Linked DNA regions of Homo sapiens: regions 1, 3 and 4 are each linked to region 2. Evidence: promoter capture Hi-C in 16 types of primary human blood cells and fetal thymus (Javierre and others, 2016). All regions are on one chromosome and are shown on one strand. Each heading gives the region's core, a stretch centred on a gene start or on the middle of the fragment in contact. The rest is flanking DNA. Distances are from core to core; before and after follow the strand shown.

Evidence for each region. Contacts are between HindIII fragments. The CHiCAGO score rates a contact against its expected background, and 5 or more counts as called.
Region 1: a contact is called between the fragment with the promoter of FOXO4 here and a fragment that was not itself captured in region 2, in 1 of 17 cell types (fetal thymus). The highest score is 6.3, in fetal thymus.
Region 3: a contact is called between the fragment with the promoter of MED12 here and a fragment that was not itself captured in region 2, in 3 of 17 cell types (naive CD8 T cells, total B cells and non-activated CD4 T cells). The highest score is 5.8, in naive CD8 T cells.
Region 4: the fragment with the promoter of SNX12 here is called in contact with a fragment that was not itself captured in region 2 in 1 of 17 cell types (total B cells); the score reaches 7.1 in total B cells.

The regions. Positions count from the first base shown.
Region 1 is chrX:71,093,735-71,097,820 of GRCh38, forward strand. It overlaps FOXO4 (forkhead box O4), which reads left to right and starts at 2,117. Exons shown (of 3, transcript NM_005938.4): 1 at 2,117-3,247. The coding sequence starts at 2,795. The HindIII fragment of the contact is 17,633 bases long and covers 1-4,086 here.
Region 2 is chrX:71,634,148-71,638,421 of GRCh38, forward strand. No RefSeq gene overlaps it. Among named protein-coding and RNA genes, the nearest start is that of CXCR3, 18 kb to the left of the region's middle. The HindIII fragment of the contact is 1,043 bases long and covers 1,698-2,740 here.
Region 3 is chrX:71,117,060-71,121,243 of GRCh38, forward strand. MED12 (mediator complex subunit 12) reads left to right here and starts at 1,537. Exons shown (of 45, transcript NM_005120.3): 1 at 1,537-1,794; 2 at 2,314-2,418; 3 at 2,627-2,818; 4 at 2,955-3,111; 5 at 3,912-4,093. The coding sequence starts at 1,696. The HindIII fragment of the contact is 19,646 bases long and covers 1-4,184 here.
Region 4 is chrX:71,066,959-71,070,951 of GRCh38, forward strand. It overlaps SNX12 (sorting nexin 12), which reads right to left and starts at 1,376. Exons shown (of 4, transcript NM_013346.4): 1 at 1,184-1,376. The coding sequence starts at 1,348. RefSeq lists silencers at 1,339-1,532, 1,372-1,591. The HindIII fragment of the contact is 9,631 bases long and covers 1-3,214 here.

The DNA.
Region 1 (4,086 bases), core at 867-3,366, 540 kb before region 2:
AGTGTGAAACTCTGCTTGTAACTTAGTGTGCAGGAAAGGTGTGAAGTGGCCTGAATCTGAGGAGCCTGGCATGCCTTGCGAGGGAATTTGAACTTTATCACACAGGCAATGGGGAAAATCAGAGGAAGATTTAACCAGGGAAATTACATGATCAAAAAAACAAAATTTATAGCCAGGTGCGGTGGCTCATGCCTGTAATCCCAGCACTTTCAGAGGCCAAGGCAGGTGGATCACTTGAAGTCAGGAGTTCCAGACCAGCCTGAGCAACACGGTGAAACCCCGTCTCTACAGAAAATACAAAAATTAGCTGGGCGTGGTGGCACATGCCTGTAGTCCCAGCTACTCCCGAGGCTGAGATGGGAGGATTGCTTGAGTGCAGCAGGTCAAGGCTGCAGTGAGCCAAGATCACACCACTGCATTCCAGTCTGAGTGACAGAGCAAGACCCTGTCTCAAAAAAGAAGGAAAGAAGGAAGGAAGGAAGGAAGGAAGGAAGGAAGGAAGGAAGGAAGGAAGGAAGGAGAAAGAAAGAAAGAAAGAAAGAAAGAAAAAGAAAGAAAGAAAGAAAGAAAGAAAGAAAGAAAGAAAGAAGGAAGGAGAAAGAAAGAAGGAAGGAAGGAAGGAAAGAAAGAAAGAAGGAAGGAAAGAAAGAAAGAAATTATACGATCGCATGTAAGTTATATAATCCCAGTTCTGCCTCGTTGGGCAAGTCAATCTCTGAGCATTGTTAGTGTCTTCATCTATAAAATGCGGATAATAGTGGTACCTACCTCATGGGGTTGAATTGAGGAGTAAATGATTGAGGAGTAAATGAACTAATGTTCGTAAAGCAATTTGCACAGAGACTGGCACATAATAAGGGCTCCATAAATTTTAGCCATAATTACCAGACATGTTTCTTAGAACGGTAACCTTGCTGGCAGCTCTGAATATAAACTGTAGTGAGGTAAAGACTGATGGAAGGAGATCCAATTAAGATGATACTGCACCTTTTTTTTTTTTTGACAGGGTGTTATTCTGTCACCCAGGCTGGAGCACAGTGGCATGATCTTGGCTCACTGCAACCTCCACCTCTTGGGTTCAAGCGACTCTCCCACCTCAGCCTCCCAAGTAGCTGGGACTACAGGTGCGTGCCCCACACCAGGCTAATTTTTCTATTTTTAGCAGAGATGGGTTTCACCATGTTGGCCAGGCTGGTCTCAAACTCCTGACCTCAAGTGATCCGCCTGCCTCGACCTCCCAAAGTGCTGATATTACAGGCGTCAGCCACTGCACCCGGCTGATCCTACAATTTAAATGCAGTTATAAATAGGTCTTGAACTGGGATTTGGATGTAGAAAGTTACGGAGATGAAGAAGTAATGGGTAATTACCTCTAAGCTGCTGCTTGGAGCTTGGGAGACTGGGTAGATCAGGACTACCATAAGTCAAATTCAGAGATAAGGGTAGCCAGAGGATAGGGGTGCGGGTGCAGGAACAGATAATGAGTTTGGACCTGTTGAATGAGAAGTGAAGCCGTTGGAGATGTGAACCTGGAGAATATCGGTGTTGAAGGGAAAGCCAGAAGAGCCAGTGGAGGAAACTGATTGGTAAGTGAGACCTCACTGTCAGTGGGAACTGCATATGGGGGGATGAAGGCGGGTGGAGGGAGGAGGAAGGGGGTGAGGAGGAACACCACCGTGGGCTAACCATTTGTTTATGTTACACAAGCCCCCCACCCAACTCTCCAACGTGCATACATCCTATTTTCTAGTCAGTTCCTTGCTTCTTGCTTCTTGGTCTCCTGCATCTTTAAGAGAATAATTTTTTCCCTTTTGCCGTCTCCTAAATGAAGGAGGGAAAGGGCTAGCACCTCTCAATCTGGTCACCTACACGACTCTGAATCACAAGGGAGACAATGGAAAGGGGGAAAGGGCGAAAAACGATTCTTAAGAAAAGAAAGAGTCCGCGACGACTTCTAATAATTAAAGTTCCACCTCGTTATATCCTGCCACGCCGCTCTCCTGCCGCCGTATCGGGCTCCTGGCCGCGAAGCAGGACGGGAGATGTAGTCCTCAAGAGTGACCAGGGTGGCACGACTGCAGAACTCGGTTTCCCGACTGGCTTTCGAGGCGCGTGCGCAGATGGCTGCCCCGGCGAGTGGTAAACAGAGACGTCAGGAGGGGGCTGCTGCTTGGAGCAAAACAAAAGGGAAACCCGGGGGGCGGGGGGTGGGGGGGGTTGATAGGGGAATCGGTGCGGGAATAAGGGAGGCCGCAGCCGCGGGGACCCGGACCCTAGTAAGAGTGGCGAGAAGGGAAGAGGCGGGGGAAGGGGGAGTCAGGGGAGGGGCAAGTGACGCGGGGGAGCGGGGCGTGGGGGAGGGCAGCAATCCGGGTGGAGGAAATTTGGGAGGAGTGTCCGGGGGGCAGCAACTTAAAAGGGGGAGGGAACTGCGGCTAAGGAGACGTTCGGTGATGGGAGCGCAATATATGAGGGGATACAGTGCCTCAGGTTTAAAAGAGCAGGAAGCTGAGTGAGAGGTTGCAGAAAAAGTGTCTTCGCTCGGCAGAGGTTACAGGTGGCATCTCAGAAAGAGCTTTGAGGCTACAGGCTGTAGTCGGGAAGGGGATCGGAGAACTGTGTGAAGGGACAGCTTAGGGACTAGCGTCCTGGGACTAGGGGGAAGTTCGCGACTTTCTGAAGACTGGCAGGAATGTGCCTCCTGGCCCTCGATGCTTCCCCCCTGAGGGGAGGCATCGTGAGGGACTGTGGCAGGCTTCACTGAACGCTGAGCCGGGGAGGTCCAACTCCACGTATGGATCCGGGGAATGAGAATTCAGCCACAGAGGCTGCCGCGATCATAGACCTAGATCCCGACTTCGAACCCCAGAGCCGTCCCCGCTCCTGCACCTGGCCCCTTCCCCGACCAGAGATCGCTAACCAGCCGTCCGAGCCGCCCGAGGTGGAGCCAGATCTGGGGGAAAAGGTACACACGGAGGGGCGCTCAGAGCCGATCCTGTTGCCCTCTCGGCTCCCAGAGCCGGCCGGGGGCCCCCAGCCCGGAATCCTGGGGGCTGTAACAGGTCCTCGGAAGGGAGGCTCCCGCCGGAATGCCTGGGGAAATCAGTCATATGCAGAACTCATCAGCCAGGCCATTGAAAGCGCCCCGGAGAAGCGACTGACACTTGCCCAGATCTACGAGTGGATGGTCCGTACTGTACCCTACTTCAAGGACAAGGGTGACAGCAACAGCTCAGCAGGATGGAAGGTAATTATGACCCTCTTACCTTCTTCCCAACACCATCTACCCCCTGGACCCCCTAGCCTCCCTTACTTCTACTCTGGGGCCCCTTTTACTACCTCCCACCCCCACCCCCTTTGGGAAGCCCAGAGATCCACCTTCAATCTCCAGTTAGACAAACATTTACTTAGTACATAGTATATGCCACACTCGGTGCTTGATGCTGAAGGATCACAGATGAATAAGACACTGTCCCTGCCCTGGAGAAAATTGAATTCTCTGCTCACTGCTCAATATTCGCAGCACTTTGGCTTGGGCTGCCCCAAACACTTATTCCCACAGAGAAGTCTTTATCCTATGTACAGCAGGAACTGTGTGGATTCCCCACATGAACCTACCCTTCCCTCCTCCCCCACCTCCCACCCCAACACCTTTTCTCCCATTCCTGTGGGATTACTTGGATTCCCTGCTTGCCTCCCAGTACCTCAGTGTAGTGGTACTGTTCTAGCACTGCTCTACCCAGGAGGAGGGAGTGCAGTGGCAAAGGGTAAAAACAATAATATTCATGGGGAAAGGTAGCTGATCTCATGCACTAAGAAGAAAAAGGGCTGTGAGCTGCCACTTGGCTCAGCTTACCCTGTGCTGCCAAGAAACTCTCCCTTGTAAGGGGCTATCCAAGTTTTGGGGGGAAGTCATCCTTTACTGTTAAGGAATATTAGTCATGAAGAAGGAGGTAGGGCTCTGACTTTAGAGCACAAAGTTGGGAGTTCTCTTGGCCTTCTGTGAAGAAACTGTGAGAGAATATCTCAAAGGATACTCTGAAAAACTTGTCCTGAGAAAATATGGGGCTGTAATCACAAAATTGG
Region 2 (4,274 bases), core at 969-3,468:
CAGCTACTTGGGAGGCTGAGGCAGGAGAATCACTTGAGCCCAGGAGTTCGAAACTATAGCGAGCCATGATTGTGCCGCTGTACTCTAGCCTGGGTGACAGACTGAGACCCTGGTTCTTAAAAAAAAAAAGACCCAGATTTGTCAGGCCAAGCCAGACTAGGCTATGCTGTGAAACAAAAAGTACCAAACCTCAGAGCGTTAATCAAACAGAACTTTATTTTTTATTCACATTAAATGTACAACACAGGTTAGCGAAGGCTTGGCTTACTGTAGTCATCCAGGGACCCAGGCGCTGACAGTGGCCCCATCTTGGCACATTCTTTCATGCTCACTGCAGCAGTGGGATGAGAACGAGATGAATTGTACACTGTGTCTTAAAGCTTCATTGGCAAAGGCAAGCCACATGTCCACACCTAACTCTAAAGAGATTCCCTGGGACGTGCAATCCCGCCACAGGCCTGGAAGGAGGACCTATTTGTAGATCCAGCAGCTGTCAACACTCATCTCTAGTCAAGACTTGGCTTTTACATGGCTTAGAGGGAAAGGGGAGACATGGATTTCTACAAGCCCACGAGGCCAGGGCCAGAGGCAGACCATGTGTCCTAACCCCATCCTCCACCACCCTAAGGTGTGGGAGAAAACAGGATACCAGCCATGCTCAGGGCTACCTTCAAGCCCCAGAATGGAAACAGTTACACTGAAAATCATAAGAAGAAATTAAAAACCATGATTTCCTTTTGTAGCTTGTATTTATTTCCTACTGCTGCTATAAAAAATTATGACAAATTTAGTGGCTTCAAACAATACAAATTTATTACCTTATAGTTCTAGAAGTCAGAAGTCTGAGATGCGGGCTGGGTGCAGTGGCTCAAGCCTGTAATCCCAGCACTTTGGGAGGCTGAGGCGGGCGGATCACCTGAGGTCAGAAGTTCGAGACCAGCCTGGCCAACATGGTGAAACAAATAATATTTTTAGTCTCTACTAAAAATAAAAATAAAAAATTAGCCAGGCGTGGTGGCATGCACCTGTAGTCCCAGTTACTGGGGAGGCTGAGGCAGGAGAATTGCTTGAACCCAGGACGCGGAGGTTGCAGTGAGCCAAGATCCTGCCATTGCACTCTAGCCTGGGTGACAAGAGTGAAAATCTGACTCAAAAAAAAAAAAAAAAAAAGCCTGAGATGCGTCTCACTGGACTAAAATCAAAGTGTTGGCAGGCTTGGTGTTTCTTCTAGAGGCTCTAGGGAAGAGTCTATTTCCTTGCGTTTTCCAACTTCTGGATGCCTTGGCCCATGGCCCCTTCCCCCATCTTAAAACCTGGTAACGTCAGGCCAAGTCCTTCTCACACTGCCATCTGTCTGGTTCGTTCATTCTGCCTCCCTCTTCTACTTATAGGGATGCTGAGATTACACTGGGCCTACCTGGATAATCCAAGAGAATATCCCTGTCACAAGTGTGCTGATTGGCAACCTTAATTTTATCTGCAATCTTCATTCCCCTTCGACATGTAATCTCACACACACACAGGTTCTGGGTTAGGATGTGGATGTAGATATCTTTGGTAGTTGGGGAATTATTCTGCCTACCACAGAGGCCTAGGAAGAAAAGGGTCGTTATCCTAGGAGGAAAAGTGGCAATGTCCCCTGGGAGATTTCCTGTGAAAACATGATGTTGGGCTACACCCCCCACTTAAGTATTTTAAGCTTGGTTTTTTCTTTTTGTGGAGACCGGGTTTCACTATGTTGCCCAGGCTGGTCTCGATCCTCCCACCTTGGCCTCCCAAAGTGCTGGGACTACATGCATGAGCCTCTGTGCCCGGCCTAAGTATTTTAACATTAGATTGGATGTTGGCTTTTTATTTTATTTTATTATTATTATTTTTTCCAAGACAGAGTCTCGCTCTGTCACCCAAGCTGGAGTGCAGTGGTGCAATTTGGGCTCACTGCAACCTCTGCCTCCCTGGCTTCAAGCGATTCTCCTGCCTCAGCCTCCCAAGTAACTGGGACTACAGGCACGTGCCACCACATCCGGCTAATTTTTTTGTATTTTTAGTAGACAATCAGTTTATCCCTTTAGGTGCCATAGGCTGAAGCCTGTATCTTCCCTCCTTGTGTTTCCCTCTTTCTCCCCACACCTTATCAAAATGAAGCCAGCTATGTGCTTTATTGCCTCAGGAGAGGTATACAGCCTGGGTAGAAGGAGAAGAGGGAGGAGAGAGAGAGCTGTGGGTCCCCGGGCCCTGCTTCCTAGTAACACTCTGAGGAGCTGGTAATTCCCCAAAGAGGAGTGGTCCCTTGGTGTGTGCAGGGAGATGCACCGGAAACTGCAGGCCTTCCAGCTGCCTGGCAGATTTCCTCAGCCACAGAAGCAGCAATGAACAGGGTAGAATGAATGGCTTAGCAGAAACTTACAGACAACAAGACCCTCTACCCCTCTGCCCCTAGATGTCTGATACCGTGAAAGGTCCCAAGACCTCTTCTTGACATCAGGGAAGCAGGAAATGTGAGGATGACTCAGGGTGAATTTCCCAGACTCTGCCAAGACGGAGTGCAGAATTGAAATTAGATTGATATAGAAAAACAATAAAGAGAGGCAATGTTTCTTGTATACCTAGATTTATAGTCTGGGATGACTAACAATAAAGAAAGATACACCTTTCAATGTACTGAGGAGCCTGGGCATAGTAGAAGAGAAAGCAGGGGGGAGCCATGCATAGTACACGGGGAATCACAAGTTTAACATGAAGCTTTTGATTTTCTTTATCCACATCAGAGAATATGATTCTCCTTCACAGGGCAGTTAATATGCAATAGCATTATGGGAAGACTGAGAAAGAATGAAAAATAGCTGGGGTGCTCTAAAGAACATTTCCTACGTAAATTGGTGCAGCCTTTTTGGAGAGCAGCTGGGTAGTATCTAGGCAACAGGTGCATCTGCGATGATTCAGCAACCCTACCAGCACAAGTGCTCAGAAGCGTATGTTCTTAAATAGGTTCCCTCCTCTCTGCCCTTCCTCCCGAGGCTCAAGCTGGCATCTCTCTACTGGCCCGCTGTGACAGCCCCTCTTACCTGATTCCCCTGTGCCCAGTCTTGCCTTGATATGGAAAGATTGCTCAGGATACAAATCTAATCATATCATTTCCCTGTTCAAAACTCGACAGTGCTCTTCCCCATGGCCCTGTGTATATAGGTCGATGCCCTGAGCCTGACACACAAGGCCCCAGTGGCCTGGCTCTTTAACAAGAGTCCCACTTACTAAGCATACTGCCAAGTTTGTTCACCAAATGAGTCAACAGGCTCCTCTCCATGCCTCTGTGCATGTGTTCCCATGTGCTCTGTCCTAACTCAGTTGCCTTATCCATTGGGAATCTCTTCCTTTCAGAAGCTGGCCTCAAACCTCCAATGCAGTAGTGACTGCTTCTTTTTGGGCTCCCACAGGACAGTCTGCACCAGCGTAGAATAGAATTTTGGATACCGGATTTTAATTTTTTTTTTTTTTTTTTTTTGAGACAGGGTCTTGCTCTGTCGCCTAAGCTGGAGTGCAATGGCATGATCTCGGCTCATTGCAACCTCTGCCTCCCAGGCTCCAGTGATCCTCCCACCTCAGCCTTCTGGATTGTAATTTTTAAAACAATTCTTTTTCCTCCACTTAAAGAATTCTTTGAAGATACAGGCTATCCCTGGTAGGTCTATATTCCCACCGTCTTGTAAGATTCTCAGTGATTCTCTCCAAGGACTTGGTTTCAGGCCCTGGGGCTCGGCTCCTCATTCTCCCAGATCACTTTCTTCTGGTCTCAGTTACCTCAGGCTAAGGGACTGGACTTAGAGATGACTTCAACACCAGAGGGGTGGCGCAGGCAGTAAGTCCTGCTTTCACTCAGCTGGATCAACAAAAGACACGATATCTGGACTGCATGCCTGTATCTGTCACTTCCTGTATGATCATGGACAGATCACAGTCTTTAAGGCTGTTTCTTCCTCAGTAAAATGAGCAAAATAATAATAGCTACCCTCAGAGACTGTTGTGTAGTTACTGAGAGACGAAGTGAAAGTGCTGCACTCTAATAACCTCCAAAGAACCATGTTAGTTAAATGTGGCACAGAAAAATAGATGAAAAAAAATTAAGTTCCTAATTTAGGAACTTGTTTATACATATTAAATCCTCTCTATTTCTTTCCCAGTCTTTAAACTAACTTCATGCTTAATTCTGCCTCAACCTGCCTTCATCTGCAGGACATTGTCCTCCCCTCTCCATGTCATCTTTTTTTTACCCCCTT
Region 3 (4,184 bases), core at 287-2,786, 520 kb before region 2:
CAGTGAACCGAGATCACGCCACTGCACTCCAGCCTGGGCAACAAGAGTGAGACTCCGTCTCAAAACAATAAATAAAATAAAAAATAAAATAAAATAAAAATATCCTTCAGAGTTAGTTCAAATGTTACCTCAGCCTCCTGAGCAGCTGGCATTACAGGCGCCTGCCACCACACAAGCTAATTTTTGTATTTTTAGTAGAGATGGGATTTCACCACGTTGGCCAGGCTGGTCTTGAACTCCTGACCTCAGGTGATTCCCTGCCTTGGCCTCCCAAAGTGCTGGGATTACGGACGTGAGCCACCACTCCCCGCCTTGAATTACTTCTTCTTTCCATTGTGATTCAATAGCATTTTGTTATTTTTGTTACTGGTGTTATTTTTGTTTATTGTTATTTGTTACTTTTGTTACAGCACACTGGCTGTCTTTTCTCTAAAAGGCAATACAAGGCCGGCACAGTGGCGCACGCCTGTAGTCCAGGCTACTGGGAGGCTGAGGCGGGAGGATCGCTGGAGTCCAGAAGGTTGATGCTGCAGTGAGCCGTGATAGCGCCACTGCACTCCAGCCTAGGCGACAGAGGGAGAACCTGCCTCAAAATAAACAAATAGCAATACGACAATAGGATATTGGCTCTGGAATTCAGAATCTTAGTGCCAGCTCTGTTACTCAGTAGCTGTATAATATTGGATAAGTGAATTTTCACACTTTGAAAACCAGCTTCCTCCATCCGCAAAATCGAGCCAATAATAATCCCTAACTCATGAGGCTGTGAGCAGATTAAAGGAGATAGTGTCTGAAAAGCATCTGACACAATAGGTGCCTCTTTAGCTAGACCAAGGGTTCTTAACCTGGAGTTCATGGACCCTTAGGGGATACATGGATGAACTTCAGGGGATCTAAGAATCTAAAGCAACATTTTGCATGTCAATATATGCATATTATTATTATTATTATTATTATTTCTGGGAAGAAGGTCCATAGCTTTCATCAGCACCTTTAAGGGTTTGTGAATCAAAAACGTTAGTATGCGGTACCCTTGGGCAGAAAAACAAACAAGAAAAGGTTAGACAACTCGATGGTAGACCTTGAGGGATTAGAGCCAGCCTTTCAGGGTTTAATAGGTTCTTTCTCATGCATACATAGTTTCTAATGTTCACAATAGCCCCTTGAAGGAGGTGTTAGCGCACCTATTTTTCAGATGCCGGAACTAAGAAACGAACTGATCTGTAATAGACGGAGTTCCTAACCAATGCAAATATTATTGAAGACTTTTCTAGGCCAAAACCGAGCTAGGCTATGGGAACCGAAGTCCAGTCAGAACTCAGCACCACAGAGGCCTCCTTCTTCCCTGGTTTGCATCCCCAGCTCATTCTGCGCCTCCGGAACGTTTCATAGATTTTTGCTGAGTGAAATCGACTTGCTGCCGCCACCGCCGAAAAACTCCCGGGGCACAGAGCTCCGCCCCCACCGGGCCAGGCCCCACCTCCTCTGCAGTCGGTATTGTCCGATGGTTCCCGGCGTACCTCGGCTTCCCTCGGTAGTTTCCGGCAATGGTCGAGAGTTTCTAACGTGCCCCCTTGTTGTCTCTCGGCCGCCGTCCTCTCAACCACCGCCCCCCTTTTCGGCTCCCTCTCCCCCTTCCCGTTCCCCCAGTCAGCCTGGCCCTGCTGGTGCCTCCGGCGCTACGGGCTGGGCAAGATGGCGGCCTTCGGGATCTTGAGCTACGAACACCGGCCCCTGAAGCGGCCGCGGCTGGGGCCTCCCGATGTTTACCCTCAGGACCCCAAACAGAAGGAGGTGCGTTCGAAAATCGGGGCTCTGGAGGGGCCGGGGGCACGCGGTCAGCCTAGGAGGAGGCACTGACGGCTGGGAATGGGGGGCGGGGCGGTTCGGTGAGAGCAAAAGTCCCGAAAGGGGGAAGAGTAAAGTGGGCTGGCGTGGGAGGGCAGGACGGGGGGCGGTGGGGGGTTCCAAGGTATGAATAGGGGGTGGTGTAGGGGCCGCACCAGAGGCGCCCTCCTCCACACACACCTCAGAAAGTTGTCTGAGACAGCTTGGTGGGGTACGGCTGCTCGGCTGTTCGCAAGAGAAGAGTGATGTTTGAGGGCGCGCTGGGTGGCTGGGAATCCTAGTGACCATGGGAGTGAGGGTGGGGTCCAAGTGAACGTAAGGGCCCAGCTTTAAGTAACGATCTGTTCTACACGGAACCCTCCTCCTGCCCTTTCACCTTGTTCCTTCTTTTCTCCTGCCCTACTCTCCCACCCCTTCCCCCTTCCCCTAAGGAAAAAACAACTAAACGCCGCTTTCCTGCCTCAGGATGAACTGACGGCCTTGAATGTAAAACAAGGTTTCAATAACCAGCCTGCTGTCTCTGGGGATGAGCATGGCAGTGCCAAGAACGTCAGCTTCAATCCTGCCAAGGTGAGACAACTCTGCCAGGCTGAAGGAAAAGGCTGGAAGAATCTAAGAAGGAGCAAAGGCCCTGGGTTGGGAAGACTTATAGGGACAACCTAAGTGGCTGAGTTTGCCTTCATGACCTAATACTATCTCATTGGCATTTGCCCAGCAAAAGGCAGGACCACCTGTCTGCCCCTTCTTCCCACCCTGAGGTACACTTTTCTTCCCTCAGATCAGTTCCAACTTCAGCAGCATTATTGCAGAGAAATTACGTTGTAATACCCTTCCTGACACTGGTCGCAGGAAGCCCCAAGTGAACCAGAAGGATAACTTCTGGCTGGTGACTGCACGATCCCAGAGTGCCATTAACACTTGGTTCACTGACTTGGCTGGCACCAAGCCACTCACGCAACTAGCCAAAAAGGTAAGGTACTGTTTCCTGTCCTTCAGGCCAAGGAGGGAGCATGGGGTACCAAGTACCCTCCTATTCCCATATTAAGCTACATGGGTGTCAGCTCATGGGGATAATAGAGACCTCACTATTTGCAATGTCCATCCAGGTCCCCATTTTCAGTAAGAAGGAAGAGGTGTTTGGGTACTTAGCCAAATACACAGTGCCTGTGATGCGGGCTGCCTGGCTCATTAAGATGACCTGTGCCTACTATGCAGCAATCTCTGAGACCAAGGTTAAGAAGAGACATGTTGACCCTTTCATGGGTGAGTAACTCCTAACACCAGGTGTACTGCTGATGGCTTCAAGGAGTGATAGAGACACCCTTGGAACCATCCTCCTTCTTAATCTAGATTCCTTGTTTCTGCTTGTTTCTTGCATTTGTTTGATCAGTAAACACTGAGAAATTTGAGTGTCTACTGTGCGCATATACTGGGCTACAAAGATGTCCGGTGCATAATCTCTGCCCCTAGGATACTAGTAGTCTAACAGGGCTGCTAAGGTATATGTACAAATAACATAATTAAATATAGAAAGTGGTGAATGTCAAGCTAGGAGCAGAAGGTTCTTTGAGTGGACAAAAGATTACTTTCTTATGGGGGTACCCGGAAAGGCTTTAGGAAGGTGGGATTTGACTAGAGACTAAAAGGATGAACTGAATTTACAAATATGGTGATTAGGGGTGGGGGTAAGGTATTCTAAGTAGAAGGATTTTTTTTTTTTTGAGACAGAGCAAGACTCTGTCACCCAGGCTAGAGTGCAGTGGCAGGATCTTGGCTTACTGCAACCTCCACCTCCCGGGTTAAAGTGATTCTCCTGTCTCAGCCTCCCGAGTAGCTGGGATTACAGGCGCCCACCACTGCGCCCGGCTAATTTTTGTATTTTTCTAGAGACGGGGTTTCACCATCTTGGCCAGGCTGGTCTCGAACTCCTGACCTCGTGATCCACCTGCCTCAGCCTCCCAAAGTGCTGGGATTACAGGCATGAGCCACCGCACCCAGCCAGTAGAAGGATATTCTAAGCAGAAGGATAGTATCAAATAGCCCTTTTTCCCTCTTTCCTCCAGAATGGACTCAGATCATCACCAAGTACTTATGGGAGCAGTTACAGAAGATGGCTGAATACTACCGGCCAGGGCCTGCAGGAAGTGGGGGCTGTGGTTCCACGATAGGGCCCTTGCCCCATGATGTAGAGGTGGCAATCCGGCAGTGGGATTACACCGAGAAGCTGGCCATGTTCATGTTTCAGGTAGAGAGTAGGGCATGCTGTGTGGGGCATTGGGTTGAGCTTGAACTTGTACTCTGCCAGTAGAGAACAGAATCTGCCTGCCACCTTGCCC
Region 4 (3,993 bases), core at 126-2,625, 570 kb before region 2:
CCACAATTTCTCATTCAATTCACTCCTTCAACAATGAAAGCACATACACTCTTTTAGTTCTTCAATGCTGTTTGAGCAGGATGCTGTCCACAGAGAATATTCTGGCCTTTTAGTCTGAGAAGAAAACATAAGGAAAACTAGAAAATGATTCTCAAACTGTTTTGCCTATAACCACTTCAAGTGGGCAAAAGATCCTGCAAACCAAGTACTCTATCTGCACATTCCATCCTTGCATTATGGGCTAAGCACTAGAGAGTAAAGTCCTCTATCATGCATGCTGGAAGAAGCCACTCCTGGGCAATTCTGAAATGTCATGTATTAAAGTAACTACAGACCAGGGTCAGAATCCAAAAGGGTAATCTAGGACAGAAAGGGCAAAAAGCCATTCATATACAAAGTACCTAAACGAGAGTCAATAAATACTGAAATAAACATTCTGGATACTTCAAATCTAAAGGATCCACATAGAATGAAAGCAGTGACTGACAAGGCACCAATCCCAGGGCCAGGCCAGGTTTCAAGGCGAGACAGCACGTAGTATCTGCGAAAACTTAAGCATAAAACATTTCTCTCCTTCAGATGCTGATCCGACACAAGTTAGGAAAGCGCTCGGTCTCAAGGAGACTCCCTTTCTTATTTCTGCTCCCACAAGCCTACTGTCTGCCTTTTCTGGAATCTACCTTCCCTTTAATTCAAGGCTTTGCTTTACTCCATTATCCCAGGGAGACCTCATTAGAAAGCAGCCGGCCTTCCTGCCCTCCCTCTTCAGACTTCTCACAACCTAGTTTAGTTATGGAGCTCAGCGATATATCGCCTTGGCTTTCCATCCCCCAGCCCTCTTCCATCCTCCCTCCCTTCCTTCAGTCGCTACAGCCGTGATTCCTATCTCCTTGAATTCCTCACTCTAATCTTTTTCCATCCACCCCACCCTATCCAGCCATGCTTCACTTCCTCATGGGTAGCTTTCCTGCATCCCCGTCCGATGTCTCCCTCAGGAGTTTTCTGCATCCTCCGGCCACAACTGAATCGGCAGACCTCGTTCCAAGCCTATTATACCCCTAACCCCCAAATGACCCCTAAGGCGTCTTCCCCGCCGTTAGTTGCCCCCGCGGTAGCCTCCCTCCCCCCTCCCGCTCGCGCCGCCCGGTCCTCCCTCAGCTGTCTCCCTCACCCCGTGACTCACCCGCATGCGAACCTCATAGGTGGTGAAGCGCGCGCGTCCCACGCCCACCGTCTGAGGATTAAAGATGTCGATCTCCAGGAAGTTACTTGGCGGCCCGTAAGCGTCGGTCAGGTCCTGCGGCTTCGAGTTAAGGCGCCGGGTATCAGCTACTGCCGTGTCCGACATCTTTCCGAAGGAGAGCCTGGGACCGGGGAAAGGGGGTGGGGGACAGAGGCCTGAGGCAGGAGCGCGCACGGCCCCTCCCGCTTGCAAAATAACTAGCCAACCCACAGGCGGCGGCGGCGCGCACGCGCGCCCACGCACGCACGCGCACGCCGCACGGGCCTGGGCCCCGGGCTCTGAATAGCGGCCGTGCTGACTGCTGCGCGCCCTGTAGAGTGGAGGCCATATTCAGGCTTCCGGGTGATGTTTGTGGCCACCCGGGAACCTGCATCCCCAATACGCAGTACCCAATACCCTGCCTAGCAGCACAGGCTGGCTCCGCCAATCGCGGCTCCTCAACCCAAGAAATTGTCTCGTACCGTGTATCAATCAACAGTGGGCACTGCCCCGTGAGCCAGGCTCCTACAGTGATAGGCCGAAGCCCAGTGACCTGAATAAGTCCTGGTTTTCCGCGAAAATAGAAGGGTGGTCTATGGAGGGTGGGGTTCCAACAATAGTACTGAGAACCTATAACGTAGCCGTCCCACCTGTGCCACTGATGGTTTCAGTTCACGCCACACACAATGGCGCACTCAGCACTACGTATGGCGCCAGGAAAGCAGCAAGCAACTAGGATGGGGTAAAGAAAGACATTTCTCTCTTACTTTTCAGGAAAATTGGGCATATCTTACTCCTTGTTGCCACACTCCAGGTGTACTCAATCTTACATTTATCAGCAAATTGAGGGTACTTATTTCATACCTTCTATTTCTACTCCGCAGAACTCCATACTTGGCACTGCTCTGAGGTTGCTTGCAACCCATAATGGAGATAGAATAAATGTTTACATGAGAATATCTATAGAAATATTAATATTTATATGACTAATTTACATATGCTCCACATTAAAGGGTAGACTGGGTGATGATTTCAGGTCATCCTTTCTCCACCTTTCCCCTGCCCTCCTCTACTCAAAAAATATTTCCCATATCACTGATGCCTGAAATTCTTTCAACAGAGTATGAGGCCCTACAATTTCACAATTGCTGTTTAATTCAATTTAACCAATATCCACTAAGCAAATACGTGCCAAGCACCATGCTAAACACTAAAATCCTGGAGTTAAATAAGAGTCCCTGCCCTCAAGGAGTTAACATTCTAGCAAGGGAGACAAGTAAACAAAACTAATATAATGCGACAAATACAAAATAAGTAAATGTTCAAAGCAGCACATAGGAAATGTATAACTGGAAAAATTAGGGGAGGTTCCCCTGGAGGAGGAAACATCTGAGTTTAACAGACATGAAAAGACATAAAGGACAAATAGGAGTGGAAATAGGGAAAGGTAATTTCTGGAATAAGAAACAGCATATGCAGGCCGGGCGCGGTGGCTCACACCTGTAATCCCAGCACTTTGGGAGGCCGAGGCAGGCAGATCACTTGAGGTCAAGAGTTCGAGATCAGCCTGGCCAACATGGTGAAACCCTGTCTCTATTAAAAATACAAAAATTAGCTGGGCATGGTGGCACACGCCTGTAATCCCAGCTACTCAGGAGGCTGAGGCAGGAGAATCGCTTGAACCCGGGAGGCAGAGGTTGCAGTGAGCTGAGATCATGCCACTGCACTCCATCCTGGGCAACAGAGCAAGACTCCATCAAAAAAAGAAAGAAAGAAAAGGAAAAGAAAAGAGAGAGAGAGAGAGAGCGAAAGAAAGAAAGAATACACAAAGTCCTTGCGATAAGAAACAGTGGAGCATTTTTAGGCATTTATCGCCAATTCAGACTGTGTGATGGAAGTGTTTAGAAAGGTAGACTGGCTAGGGATGGGCAGACAAAGGATGATCCGCTTATATTAAGTAAAGGATCTCTGACTTCATGATAGGTGATACAAAGCTTTCTGGTAGGTGATAGGGAGTCCCTGAAGGATCCTAAGCAGGAAAAATACATGATCAGATTTATGTTTTAGAAGAATTGTTTTGTAGACAACATGGAAGGTATATTTAAGTTGAATTATGAAGGTATTGACAATAAGACTCCGAATCAAGTGGTGATGGTGACAATGGAGAGGAGGGAAGAGATAGGAAAGAGATTGAAGAAATAAAATAGATACGACTTGTACGTGATTAGATATGGTGGTAGTATAGTGTAGGGCTTAAATGTGTGACCCATGAACTTAGGCTGCCTGGGTTTAAATCCTTGCTTTCTAGCTGTATAACCATGAGCAAATTATACAAACAGTTTTCCTCATCTGTAAAAAATGAGTTCAGTTTAGATAAATATGGGGTGTCTGTAGAACATCCAGGTGGAGATGTCCAGCGAGTAGCTGGAAATACTGGCCTGGAGCTCGAGGGCGAGGTCAGGGTTAGAGAGATAGAGATATGAGAGTCATCAGCATACCATGTAGAAAGAAAAACATGAAGAGGCAAGGACAGAAGATTTGAAAGTTGGTGAGGGCATGCAGTTTTGGTAGGAATGTGAATCGGTACAATCTTTCTGGGAAATAGATTGGCAGTATGTATTTTTTTTTTAAACTTTGACTTGAAGAAACTTGTAATACTGGTTGTCTCTGGAGAGCAGAACTGGAGAAAAGAAGTCACAGACGGCAGGGAGGGTTGTTTTTCATTAACTGTGTTTAAGTATAATGCCTTTGTATTTTTTATTTTTAATGTT